Regions from separate parts of the Homo sapiens genome. Here region 1 is linked to region 2. Evidence: promoter capture Hi-C in 16 types of primary human blood cells and fetal thymus (Javierre and others, 2016). All regions are on one chromosome and are shown on one strand. The core of a region is centred on a gene start or on the middle of the fragment in contact, and the rest is flanking DNA. Distances in the headings are between cores, read along the strand shown. Region 1 overlaps MYO5A (myosin VA). Region 2 holds the start of MYO5A (myosin VA).

The links. The method cuts DNA at HindIII sites, captures the fragments that hold promoters and counts their contacts. A CHiCAGO score of 5 or more calls a contact.
Region 1: a contact is called between a fragment that was not itself captured here and the fragment with the promoter of MYO5A in region 2, in 1 of 17 cell types (total CD8 T cells). The highest score is 5.2, in total CD8 T cells.

The regions. Positions count from the first base shown.
Region 1 is chr15:52,358,425-52,365,367 of GRCh38, forward strand. MYO5A (myosin VA) reads right to left here. Exons shown (of 42, transcript NM_001382347.1): 24 at 6,130-6,278; 25 at 1,544-1,657. Among named protein-coding and RNA genes, the nearest start is that of MYO5C, 66 kb to the left of the region's middle. The HindIII fragment of the contact is 952 bases long and covers 1,990-2,941 here.
Region 2 is chr15:52,523,444-52,530,129 of GRCh38, forward strand. MYO5A (myosin VA) reads right to left here and starts at 5,437. Exons shown (of 42, transcript NM_001382347.1): 1 at 5,337-5,437. The coding sequence starts at 5,363. RefSeq lists a silencer at 5,087-5,966. The HindIII fragment of the contact is 12,943 bases long and covers 4,114-6,686 here.

The sequences.
Region 1 (6,943 bases), core at 1,216-3,715, 170 kb before region 2:
ATTCTCCAAAGATGGCACCAATGATTCTTCTCAACATACAAGTATTTCCTCCCAACAAGAGATGGAATCTATCCCCTTTGCCTTGAATCTGGGCTGACCTTGTGATTTTCTTTGATCAGAATGCAGCAGAACTAACACTGGGCCAGTTCTGGGCCTAGCTCTAAGAGGCCTGGCATCTTTTAGTCTGTCACTCTTAGAACCCACCTACCTGCTGCTGAACAGAGGCTACATGGAGAGGCCCAGGGAAGAGAAGCAAGCACTCTACAGAATGCAGCTACATGAGGCACTCCGACCACCACCACATGGAACAGAAGAACTCCCCAGTCAAATCCCACAGAATTATGAGTAATAATAAATTACTGTTTTTTAAAAAAAAAACACTAAAACTTGAGATCATTTATTACATAGCAATAGATAACTGGAAAAACCTCTATCCTGCTATATCCTGGCCATACTGTTATATCCATGGGCCCCAGCCAATGTTAGCTATAGATAGAAAAGGGATTGGAGAGTTGCAGTACAGAATCCCTGGATGGAAGTCAGTAGAATATAATGGCTTAAGAACATGAATTCTAAAGAGACAAGCCTCAGTTAGTATGCTGGATCTACCATTTATAAGCTGTGAACCTGGACAAATTACTTAGCCTTCTTGTATGTATGATTCCAATGATATGACATTCCAACTATGTAACATTTTTCTTCAAAATTAACAGAATGAGATGGCAGAAACTTCATTCTTAAGTAGAACTAAGACAAGAAAGGAAAGAATCACTCAATTTCTCTAGCTATTCTACCAGAAGCAGTCTATTTCTGATTTGGCCATTTTCAAAAAATATAATATAAAAATAGGACAGTTGTGCCTGAATTACCCATTATTGAAACTATATCATATTTTAAAAGATCTTAGAATTGGTTGGGAATAATCTAACTAAAAGTCACTATACTCTTGGAGTTACAGTAATACATCATTTTGGTTTCATACCACAAAACACAAAACATTAAAGCAGATTTCTAAACTATTTTCCATGCATTTTGTAGAAGAAAGTTACATTGGTAAAAACTGGCATAAAATAGAGGCATCAGTTTTGCTAAACTCTGGGGCACTGGTGTTTATAATATTCAAGGACAAAGGGCTTACTTTAAAAATAATTTACCTCTGTCTACAGCGGTGGTCCACAGATATAAAGTAAATAAATAATAAGTAAAAATAAAATAATTTACCTCAGTCTGAAATAAATTCCTGTAAACATATCATGTTAGGGGTAAAGAGAATTATAAAAATAAAATCTCACCATCAAAATTGCATTAAAAATTAAAATTAAAATTTGTATTGACAAAAAAATGCAATAGGTATGTATGTACACAGCACTTAAGTATACAAAAATGTAAATAAGTTTGTATCTACAAGTCACTTATGAAGAATAAATGATTCAAACAAATACTATGTTTATGGCCAATTGGAGTCTGCTTTGCAATGGAAATGTTCCTTGTTAACAACAGCATGCTCATATCCTACTTTCAGTGACAGATGTCTAAACTGTACCTCTGTCCTTGATGGAATGTCTTCCATTTCTGCAATTTCAGAGCTAAAGATATATTCAGACTCGTTGCTGCTGTGGGTGGAGTCTGTTCTCTTGTGTCCAGGCTTAGGCACATGCTGCAAGGCAAATAACCCAGGTATAATTAATGCAACATAATTAGTCTAGGCATAGTTAAGACAGCATCCACCTTGACTTGGTTCTTATCCCTACTTCCTGACTTGTATTGGTGCCCAAGTGATTTGTTCCATATTGTTTTGACCAAATAATTACAAAAAGGTCACCGCTTCAAAGAAAAAGGTACACTGGCATGACAGGACAAGAACAGTTGCAAAACCAAATGCCCAAATGAAAACCACTTCTGATTATTAGTCGAGTCCCCTTTGGGTGTTGAAAGCTTTGAGCGGTCAGTCACACTGGGTGAAGCAGTGCTCAGTGAAGCACTGGGTGAAGCTTCCAAGCACTGACTTTTAGTGCCATAATCAAATAAAACTTACAAAAACCTCATAAAATATATTGAAATGGCATGCACAATCATTTTACTGCATGGTAACTAGGCATAAATGGTTTAAAAGAAAGATGAAGGAGTTCACACAGGCAGCTCTAACTTCTGTCACTTTAATACGTGAAGTTAAATCTTTGGAGTGAGCAGTGGGCAGGATGGACAGTACACGGGAGGTAAGAAAGCTGCTCTAGTAATCCTCTGAAGAGCCCTCGGTTATTACCTCAGGGCATCCAGGTGGCATTTTTATGACATGTAATACCTAGGAAATTAGTGTTGAGAAAGTTCAAGAGGAATAGAAAAGTTTAGCAACGACACACCCTTCCCTCCTGTAGGAGAAGGGGTTAGAGAATAACTTGAGGGAAGAAGGAATTAAAAGGCTGGGCTCTTAGCATGTCCCCAGCAGGAGAGGTGGAAAAGATCCAGTGGCTTAATCTTGCAGTGTTACAGTCCTGAGGGCTTCACAAAGGCCTCTGAGAGCTTTCTCATCTGTCCAGTTTTCTTTGTACCTTTCCCCAGCTGCTGGAAAAGAGCTAGAAGCCACAAAGAGCTTCTTTGTCTCTTCCCTTCCAACACCCAGGCTTATGGAGAGCAGACTCATCCAGAGGCACGTAAAAGTCTCCCAGGCCAACCCAACCTGTACTGCAATGTGAAGGGAAGATCCAAGAACACCAGCACCTCTGAAACGATCCAGAAGCTGGGGTGCACACTAAAGGGGACAATCATCACACATGAAGTCAAAGGCACTCAAATTCACTGTCTGTTTACAGACACAGGCACTCTTGCTTAAAGTTTCCAGCCCAAGCCCACAGTTGTAGGAATGGCATTTATTTAATAAACTGGTTGTATCACTAAGAAAACCAGGTAGTCCAGATAAACACCAGGACAAAGATTTTTAATAAGCTTATTAAAAATGAGAGAGATCCCTGTCTTCCCACATATGTCTATCATTATACAAGGAATACCTTAAGGCATTAATAGAAGCAACATTGCTTTTTGCTATTTAATGTAACTTTTGGATACAGGGCAGTGATTAAGTGCTCTGGATCTGAAACGAGAGAGAGTTAGGCAGGAATACCAGCTCTTCCACTAGCTGGTATTTTCATCATCAGGAAAAAAAGGGTACTAATTTCTATCTCATAGGGTCTGTGTGAGGATTAAATAAGAGTGTGGAAGTAAAGAGTTTGGCTTGGCATAACAAGCATTCAATGAATGTTAACTTCTGCTGCTGTGATTGTTAGGAGATTGCAGTGATTCAGCAACTTCCTTGTTGGTAACTTTTCAGTTCTCTGTTTTTAGGATTTTGTTCCCCCGTTTATACGTTTTTCAATTACAAGGATATATATTTGACTGGATCATCACGTTCTCCTTCAAGATCTGCACCTCCCTCCTCTTCTGCTCCTGATTTCTCCCATGATTCCTTCTTTTCCAGAACATGTTTTATCCCTTTGTCAAGACTAACGACCCCATGATTGACATGCTGGTTTCCCTCCCCTCTCTGGAATTAATTTATCTTTAAACACTTCATAAACCTGGATGCCCATGCCTCATGATCTTTTCATCATTGGCTTGAAACTCCTTAGCCCTGGATTGGTCCTTCCTCTTTGCCTCTGCCCCTATATTCCCTGGACAACCGAATGTTCTTGGAGAAAAATGCTACAGTACTTCTTGTACTAGGGCCAACAACTCTAGAGGCTGGCAATGAGTGACACTATTAGTGTTCTTTGGCCCATGTATCACATAGGTTATGGGAAGCGCTGGAGGCAGTGTATCAAGTCCCCTCCCTAGAGTTTCCTCCATTCATATGACGACTCTGTTTACAACCAAATGCTTCATTAGCTCTGGATTGAAGCAGTGAGAGTGTCATTTACAGAACAGCGTCAGTCTAATATTAGTCAAGTACTCATCTGTTAGCTGTTTAGTTGTACCTAAACATTAAAATAAGATATTGTCACTAATATTTTAATTGTCATGGGTTAAAAGATCAAGTTTTTTATTCTCTGCAATTCTGGGCAAATATTTTCTGCAAAAACTGTCATCTTGATTATATCTGGAGCTAGGAAAAGGAGATCTAGTGAAGAAATGAGTGGGAAGCAAGTGAGCTCTGATCTCCCTTCCTCTGCTTTCTCCTTTTCCCTTCCTCTGACCATTTTGTCTCCCAAGAGGAATGACTGAGTCACAGGCATACAATGGAGAGGACACATGACTGAGAAATAAGAAATTGAGCAACTAAAACTACCTCTAGAGCACTGCTGGGAACAGATGGAGAGCAGGCAGACTTGCTTAGCAGGAAGGAGGAGCCGTGTCAAGCTGCTGGAGGAGGCGTCACTGGAGGACCTTTCTAGAAATGGCCACCTCCTCGACTAAAGAGACCCATGACCTCCTCACAGATGGATATCTCTGGAATATGCTCAGAGAGGGATACATGTATGGCACCTGCTTCTCTCATTTTATTTTCTGAAATTCATATTGCATGCACCATTAAAGAATCCAAGAAATTCTCCAGAAAAGACATTTGTTTATCTCTGTTTAACCTAGTAGATTACCACATTTATTTTACCTAAGAATTTCTTTTCCAATCCCACTTATTAACATCCCAAATAACTAGGGGGTCTCAGAAACACCTACTGGGTTATAAAGCTTAGCTCTAACCATAACTGAAACAGAGATTAACCATAAATGTTGGCATTGTCATCTAATAAATAGAGTGAACAAAAACACACCAAAGAATGGAACTGGGGAACATGAACACTGAAAAAGAAGAAAAGGATTCAAGAGAAAGCTAAGAATTACAGAATGTGAAGGAAGAAAGGTTTCAATGGGACCAACGGTAGCACGGTGATCTAGGAAGATGAAGCTTAACAAGGGTCTTTAGATTTGTCAATTATAAGAACAGTTATAATGGTGACTTGCATCTACTTCTAATTTCTCTTTGTCACACATAAATCAGAGTAGTGAGGGTTGAAATAATGGTCCAATGTGGGATTTATATTAGCTTTTTGGTCTCTTTTAGACAGGATTTTCTCATCTGCAAGGTGATGAGAGCCTATCTTTTGTATTACACAATCTCTTTTATTTTGACTTTTAAGTGTCATATTGTAATGAACTTTGTCAGTAGGTCCAGATAGAAGCAAAATTTGAAGAAAATACTCTGCTCCACAGATACTGAATTATCTGGCTTTTTATGAGATATTTCAGGGCATTTCTGGTCATTTGTATAATTAGGTTACCTTTAAGGCTGGTACTTGTAGGGATGCTTGGGAACTCTTTGTTTCCTGATAGCAGGATACATGGAATGGGGAGGATGTGCAGAATTATTACAAGTATGAAAGGTACATTGGCAAATGCAGAAGAGTCCTTGAAATAGATAATTCATTACAAATGGAGTCTGAATTTTCTTTTCATAGGAATATATCTTCAAAATTATAATCAAAACCAGTCTACATGTAAATTTTACATTAGGCCATTCAATATATAAAACAAAGTCCAACTGGCCGGGCGCAATGGCTCATGCCTGTAATCCCAGCACTTTGGGAGGCCAAGGTGGGTAGATCATGAGGTCAAGAGATCGAGACCATCCTGGCCAACATGGTGAAACCCCATTTCTACTAAAAATACAAAAAATTAGCTGGGCATGGTGGTGGGCACCTGTAGTCCCAGCTACTCGGGAGGCTGAGGCAGGAGAATCACTTGAACCTGGGAGGCGGAGGTTGCAGTGAGCCGAGATTGTGCCACTACACTCCAGCCTGGTGACACAGGGAGACTCCATCTCAAAAAAAAAAACAAAAACAAAAACAAAAATCCAACTTTACTGACTTTATACTATCACATAGCCCAGTCTTTAAACTGTTTGACTTTACCGAAGTACTTGTGAATAAAATTATATGATTTCTAAGATTTGCTTTAAAATAATCCAATCCATTGGATGGAGTGGGTTGGGGAGATGGAATGGGAGGTGAATATGTGTTGAACATTCTGGAACTGGGTGGTAGGTACACAGAAGATATGGAGGTTCATTCTACTATTCTATTTACTTTTGTATATGTTTAAAATTTTTCATTAAAAAAAAAACAAAAGTGTTTGACTCACCACCATAAGGGTCATCTCTTCCTTGAGGTCATCATATCTTTCTTCCAGGCGACTGAACTCATTCAGAAGGTTCTGATATCTCAGCCTTTCATCATTAAGGTCGAGTTCCAGTTGTTTCGTTTCTTCTACTAACTTCTTCTCCATAGTTTCTGAAATTAAAAAAAGGATATGCATACTAAAGATGGCCCCTTGAGAATGCAATTGTGTAAACATGTATACTGATTTCCAGTTTCTCTGTAGGCAATTTTACTTTTAGTATCACTGTGATCCATGAAGAGTGTCTTAGTAAAATTTAGGAAAAGAAAAAATGACCAAAAAATGAAATAATTTATTAATAATAACAATCATCTACTGAGTTATTCCATGTACTCTGGCCTTAGTACCACTAATTGATACACTGGTTACAGCACATCCTTGAAAAACTTCCACTAGTCAGTCACTGTCTAGTAACTAAAGTGTACATATTTTTATTCCAATGGTATTCTATTCATAAAATTATTTTGCCCAAAGTAGTGTACTCTCTCAAAATGACCTCCTCACAGATATTTCTCAAGAGAGATATTTCTCAAGAGAATGGCAACTTTTCAGTGGACCCGGTTGTCCTACTCTACAGAGTCTCTCTTAATTTACCATCTCACAGTTCTGTCTTACGTTTTCTACGACTTTAACCTCCCCTGCTGTCCTATTACTTCCCAGCTTCTAACCAGATAAAATGCTCGGGCCTGGCCAGCTGTGTTGTGTGCTTGTTGGTCATCCCCACGCGCTGCTGAGGAAACCTTGCCTTCTCCATTTACCTACACCCTCAGCCCTCTTT
Region 2 (6,686 bases), core at 4,187-6,686:
AACAAATATTCAATGAGCAGCTATTCTGTGTAACACTGGGCTAGGCTCTACAGGAGGTAAACAAAACAGCATGTCAGGGGGCTTAGAGTATCGTGGGAGTGGTAAACATATACACAAATACAGTAACCGTAATAAGACAGAAACATGTTTGGGACATTAAGACAGAGAAAAAGAGTACTAGTGGGAGTTCCAAATCTGAGCTATCAGCTGGATGTCAACTGAAATTAGAATTGATATAGAAGAAGTCGAATGTGAAAGACAAGAAAAAAGATACGGAGGTTTCCAAGCTGCGGAACTAGGAGAACAGCAAGTCGTTAACAGGCCTAGGAACACCAGGAGGAAATTCAAATGGAAAGGGCATGACAGGAGACTTGAGGACAGCTAACATCCTTGCCAAACTCCAAGTCAGGGCACATGATCAGAGATGAGATTTCTGTTCCTCTTTAAGATGTTGGAAGCAGTCTGAGAAATACAGTCTCGACATGAAAATATTAGAATTTCCAAGATCAGTAGTTTGAAGAGACAGTGCCATAGAATATAAAAGTGGATCTATCCCAGAAAAAATCTAGGCCATGTGGCTCCTGTATATATGAGAGGATATGTTGGGAATGGAAAGTTACACATATACAATCTACTGACCTTAAGAGCTGTTTCATCTAGGCAAGTTAACATGCTTTGCAAATGTGGAATTTTAGATTGTCTTTGCACTGTTACAATACTCAGCATCTCAGCACACATGGGAACCTCCTAATCAAACAGCTTCAGGTAAAAACAAAACAAAACACAAAAGTAAACAAAAAAATTAAAACTTTTTTAAAATTAAAAATAAGCCAGGCATGGTGGCTCATGTCTGTAATCTCAACACTTTGAGTGGCCGAGGCAGGAGAATCATTTGACCTGAGGAGTTAGAGATCAGCCTGGGCAACACAGCAAGATCCTGTCTCTGTAAAAAGTACAAAAATTAGCTGGGTTTGGTAGCACATGCCTGTAGATTCAGCTACCCAGGAAGGTGAGGTGGGAGGATGGCTTGCACCTGGGAGGTCGATACTGCAATGAGCCATGTTCACACCACTACACCTCAGCCTGGACAACAGAGTGAGACCCTGAACCTAAATAAATAAATAAATAAATAAATAAATAAATAAATAAAATAGGCTGGGTGTGGTGGCTCATGCCTGTAATCCCACACTATGGGAGGTGGAAGCAGGAGGATCACTTGAGTCCAGGAGTTTAAGACCAGCCTGGGCAACATACTGAGACTATCTCTAGAAGAAATTTAAAAATTAGCTGGGTGCATAGCTGTGGTCCCAGCTACTCACGAGGCTGAGGTGGGAGGACAGCTTGAGCCCAGGAGTTAAAGGCTACAGTGAGCCATGTTCATTTCACTGCACTCCAGCCTGGGTGACACAGTGAGACCCTGTCTCAAAAAAAATAAAAAATTAAAAAAAAAAAAACCCAGCTTCAAGTAATCTTGACCATCCTATAGCATGGATACCATGGTGCTATCCATGGTGTCTGGGAACATGATGACAGGAGGAATAGCATGCCATTCATTATAATGTTCCCGATAATCCTTCTAGGTCTAATTGATAAACCCTACTCCACAAATGTAGAATTGCTTCTAGTTACCAAAAGCACCTATGGATGATGTATGATATAGATATCCACTGGCAAGTCAAGACTAGCAAATATTTTCAAAATCAGAAGCAATGAGATATCATAGTTTCCTTTAATTCTTTTGGGAGCAAGGCAGGTTGACCACAAACACATCAACATACTACTCTGTGAATAAACCAAAAACCATTGAATAGTACACTTTAAATGGTGAATTATATGGTATAAGACACATATCTCAATAAAGCTGTTATTTTTAAAAATCAACAAAACATGTTTTAACCAAAATATTCGTTTCCAGACAAGTATCCCAAGAACCTAGCTATTGTCCTTAAAATGTTTATACTGCTGGAAAAACTTACAAAATGGAAGCCTTGTTAAATTGCTGTGACAAAACCATTACCATTCTGGCTAAAAAGAAGAAATTGAACAGTCTCTTGTCCTTCACTGTAATAGGAACTGATCTGTATCACACATTAAAATCTGCCCTTAAGATCTGAATGACATTTTTTTAAAGAGCACTTTTCAGATTTAACCACAATGTTAAATACCATAATTATGGCATATCACTAATACATCTTTCCTTGTAATCTATCCTAGAACTTCCTTCCTATAATCCTCTGCAAGGGGAAGATCCTTGTGCTTATCCACTGATAATACTTCTAATGATTTTCCTATTCCTCTAGTAATTACAATAGTAGTTTTTATCTCTGGAATCAGCCCAACCTTCCCCATGTCCCAACCCATTCCCTAACTTCTACTAATAAATATCATACCAGCTGTCTGCCTGCTGTTGAGGTAACAGCAGGTTATTTATGCCCCTATAGATTCAAAGTGGGTCAAGAATGTAAGAAGCAGACTATGAGCGTGTTGAGGGAAAGGACTGTATCTTGTTCATTGTTAAATCCTCTAAACATTAAGCAAAGTACCTGGCACACAGGATGCCTGATAAGTATTTCTGCTTGCCATTAAGCTAAGGCCCATTCACAAAAAGAATTTGCCAACAAATAACCAAGTAACCAGACTATTAATTAGGCATAAGTATATTTAGAAGAAGGCAGTGTAAGCCCCAACTTCAGTCTTGATCTCTAAGCCAGTCTGTCTTTATAATGACAAAGAGGTTAAAAAAAATTTTTTTTCAACACACGGTCTTGCTGTTTTGCCCAGGATGGAGTGCAGTGGCACAGTCATGGCTCACTGCAGCCTCAACCTCCCAGGCTCAAGCAATCTTCCTGCCTCAGCTGATCATCCTGCCTCAGCTCTCGAGTAGCTGGGACCGCAGGCGTGACTAACTCGCCCAGCTAATTTTTATTTATTTATTTATTTATTTTTTGAGACAGAGTTTCGCTCTTGTTGCCCAGGCTCGCGATCTTGGTTCACTGCAACCTCCGCCTTCCAGGTTCAAGTGATTCTCCTGCCTCAGCCTCCTGAGTAGCTGGGATTACAGGCATGCGCCACCACGCCCAGCTAATTTTCTATTTTTAGTAGAGACGGGGTTTTGCCATGTTGGTCAAGATGGTCTCGAACTCCTGACCTCAGGTGATTCACCCACCTCGGCAACGTGTTGGGATTACAGGCGTGAGCTACCGTGCCCAGCCTAACTTTTTAATTTTTTTGTAGAGACCAGGTCTCATTATGTTCCTCAGGCTGTTAAAAGGTAAATTTTAAAATAGATTGTGATAAAGCTGTGACAGAAGCCCAAAACTTTACCATTTACAAATCACAACATCTTTTCAATTTTTTCTCCCAAATTATCCTGGGGGAAAAAAGCATTCGAAATCCAACAACAATTTATTATCCACTCAGTCTCTAGTTAAGCAGCCTACTATTAGGTGACTCAAAGATGACTGCTCACCATATAGAACGGAGGGTGTCCAATCTTTTGGCTTCCCTGGGCCACACTGGAAGAAGAATTTTCTTTGGCCACACATAAAATACACTAATGATAAATGATGAGCTAAAAAAAAAATTGCAAAAAAAACACAACAACCCATGTTTTAAGAAAGTTTATGAATTTGTGTTGGGGCACATTCAAAGCCGTCCTGGGCCCACATGCGGCCCATGGGCTGCGGGTTGGACAAACTTGATGTAGAAGTGGAGGGGATGGGCTACACAAAGTAACCAAGGAATGTTTACAGACTGATTATCTCTTCATGTGAAAATGATTTTGATATTTCTTAATATCGACCTCATAAGTTCCTTATGAGGATTATGAGTTCATATTTTTAAAACGCTTAAAACAGTACCTGGCACATAGCAAGCACCATATTAAGTGTTTAAGTTACTTTTAATCAGTTTCCAATTGCATTCGTTCATATGTTAGAGATCTACAATGCCTAAAGAAATTACCAGGTTGAGAGAGAAGTTCCAACTGTACAGTCGTTAAATCTAAAACTAGAAAGAAAGAGGTCTCAGACAATGTTTCATGCAAGCTCATTTCATGGTTGAAGAAATTAATCATATATCTCATATTTGCAGAGAAATTCATAGGTTACAAAAAGCTTTCACAACGATTATTAAGTTTGATTCTCACAACAGCTTGTAAGGGATGCAAGGCAAGTATAATTAACTGCATTTACTCATTAGGAAATCGAACCAGAGATGTTAAGTGACTTGTCCAAGGTCACAGTTAGTAAGTCCCGGCTTGAATCCAGGTCTCTTGATGCCCAGTCTTCTTTCCTCTACAAAACACACTGCAACTTGGGCCCTGGACTTCAGTGACATTTGGAAACAATGATTCCAGTGATTACAGGACCCTAAATGAAAGTTCTGTTGCAAAAGCTAATGTGAAAAGGCAACTCTATTAACTGCATGTAGAAGTAATCAATATCTGGCAAAATATCTACCTACACATGAGTGTACAGTATAAAATGCCATGATTACATATATTCACAAAGGTCATCACAAATCTGCGCAGCACTCAAGTGACAGTTCTCCATAATATGTCATTCAGAGATCGCCAGACCCTGAGTATATTGATGTCAGTCTAAGAAAAGACTGCCACTTCCCTTAAACCAAACCCAGAAGGGAAAGGCTTGCCCCAGAGGATGGTAAAGACATGGAGCCTAACAAGGCTCTGCGGGATTACACGCAGGTTGCAAACTCCCAGCGATAAATGAGTACCGACCCTCCCAGCCGGTGAATCAGCTCGCGTTCATCCGGCAGCATCTTTCCCCGGGGCTCGCCACCCCCAGCGCAGCTAAACTGGGGAGCTAAAGGTGATACGGCCACCGTTTGCAGGATTCAAAATAACCTCACAGAAAGGCTAGCTGGCGGTAGAAGCGGCACTGCATACCAACACAAGACGTTATTTTAAGCGCGTGTCCCCACGAGAGAACCCATCCGATCTACTGGAGCAAGCATCTCCCACCCGCCGGGAATTTTCCAAAGCCAAGCAGGAGGGGAGGCACGCCCGCCCTGCTAAATCCACATGGGCCCCCTTTCCACTCCGAAGCCCGCTCTGCCCCCAGCTCGAGCAGCGCGGCAGGGGCCTGGGAGACCCCCGAGGCGGGCCACCTTCCGCCGCCTTCACCATCTCGCCCGAAAGAGGAAGGTGCCGCAGCGGGCGACCGGCTGGTAGGGCCGAGGGTTCTGAGGCGCTGAAGGGGATGGCGCTGGTGGGGCTCGCCTGGGCCCGGCGCTCCCGCCCCCTCCCCAGCCTGACAGCTGGCGGCGAGGGCCGCACAGCCCCAGTCCTCGACGCCGGCCGCGGGGTGCCTTACCTTTGTGTAGAGCTCCGACGCAGCCATGGCGGGCCCCGCGCGCCTACGCCCCCCGCCTGTGCGGAGGCCGCACCTCGCCTGGGCGGCCGCCCGAGCGGACTAGGAAGCGCCCGCAGCCGCCGGCAGGGAGCAGGGCAGGGCAGGGCCGGGCGGGGAGGGCCGCGCGGGGCGGGGCGGGGCGGGGCGCCTCAGGCGCTGGCCGCCCGCAGGGGCCTCGCCATCACTCCCGGGCTCGCCGCGAGCAGCCGCGAGCGCTCCACCTGCCCGGGGTCCTAGGGGTCGCCGCCGCCGCCGCAGCCACTTCGGCGGCCCGCGATGCTGCCTCCGCTGCCGCCGCCGCCACCGCCGCCGCCCTGTGCATTATGGGAGCGGGAGGAGGCTGCGCTCCAGCGCTGCCACCGCGGCTGCTCTGGGCTCTCTCGGGCTCACGCTGCCTCCCATCGGCTACGAGCACAGAGCATCATCATCATCAGCCTGCCAGCCGGCCCCGCCGCCGCCTCGCGCCCTGCCGAGGCCCGGAAACCCGCCCGGGACGTGAGCCCCGAGGGCGCGGCACACCCCGGGCGCCCCCACCCCGAAGCGAGCCCGGGGCCCTCTGCTGCGGAGCCTAGCTCCCGCGGTAGCGCAGCCATGGCACGGGCTGTTACTGTGTCCGAATAAACGATGGGAGCCTCCAGGCTGCTCCTCCCGTCCTTCCAAGCATTCCTAGGGAGAGGATTTAGGGGAAGCCCTCTTGAAAGACTGTAGAATAACCCAGGACTGTAGAAGAGCCTTGTCAGCAGCAGTGACCCGGGAGATGGGCAATGCAGGACCGGGAATTTCAGGTTAAGGTTGATCACCAAGGTCATTCCGAGCACCTCGATGTCTGCAGCAAAGTCGTCTCCCGATACCAGAGGGCAAGGGCCGCTTCTAAGCTACAGAAACTTAAGTGACTTTGAAACGAGATAGCCCGGGGACAGCCCAGGTGCCTCTTTCCTAGACCTGTGCGTTTGCGGAGATGCAACTACCCTTCTGTCCCAGCCTTCTTCCCGTCCTGTTCGCTGCTGGTGATTGTCGGCTCCATGGTGGCACCTGAAGTTTATCCGGTTGCCACCTGAAAATGACGGAGTACTTACATGGAAAATCTGTATTACAGTTTAACTCAACATCAAAAGGGCAAAGCCGCCCTCACTCTCCTCACGGTGATCCTTGAACATCCAGCACAAGAATGTGGTCTTTCTACTCCCAACCCTGCGCTGTCTTCATCCTCTATCTTCTCCCCACCCTCATTGTCGTTTCTGGTTGAATAATCTTCATTCTTTATTGTTGTCGTTGTTGTTGTTGCTGTTTTTGTTTGTTTAATCCCTGCCT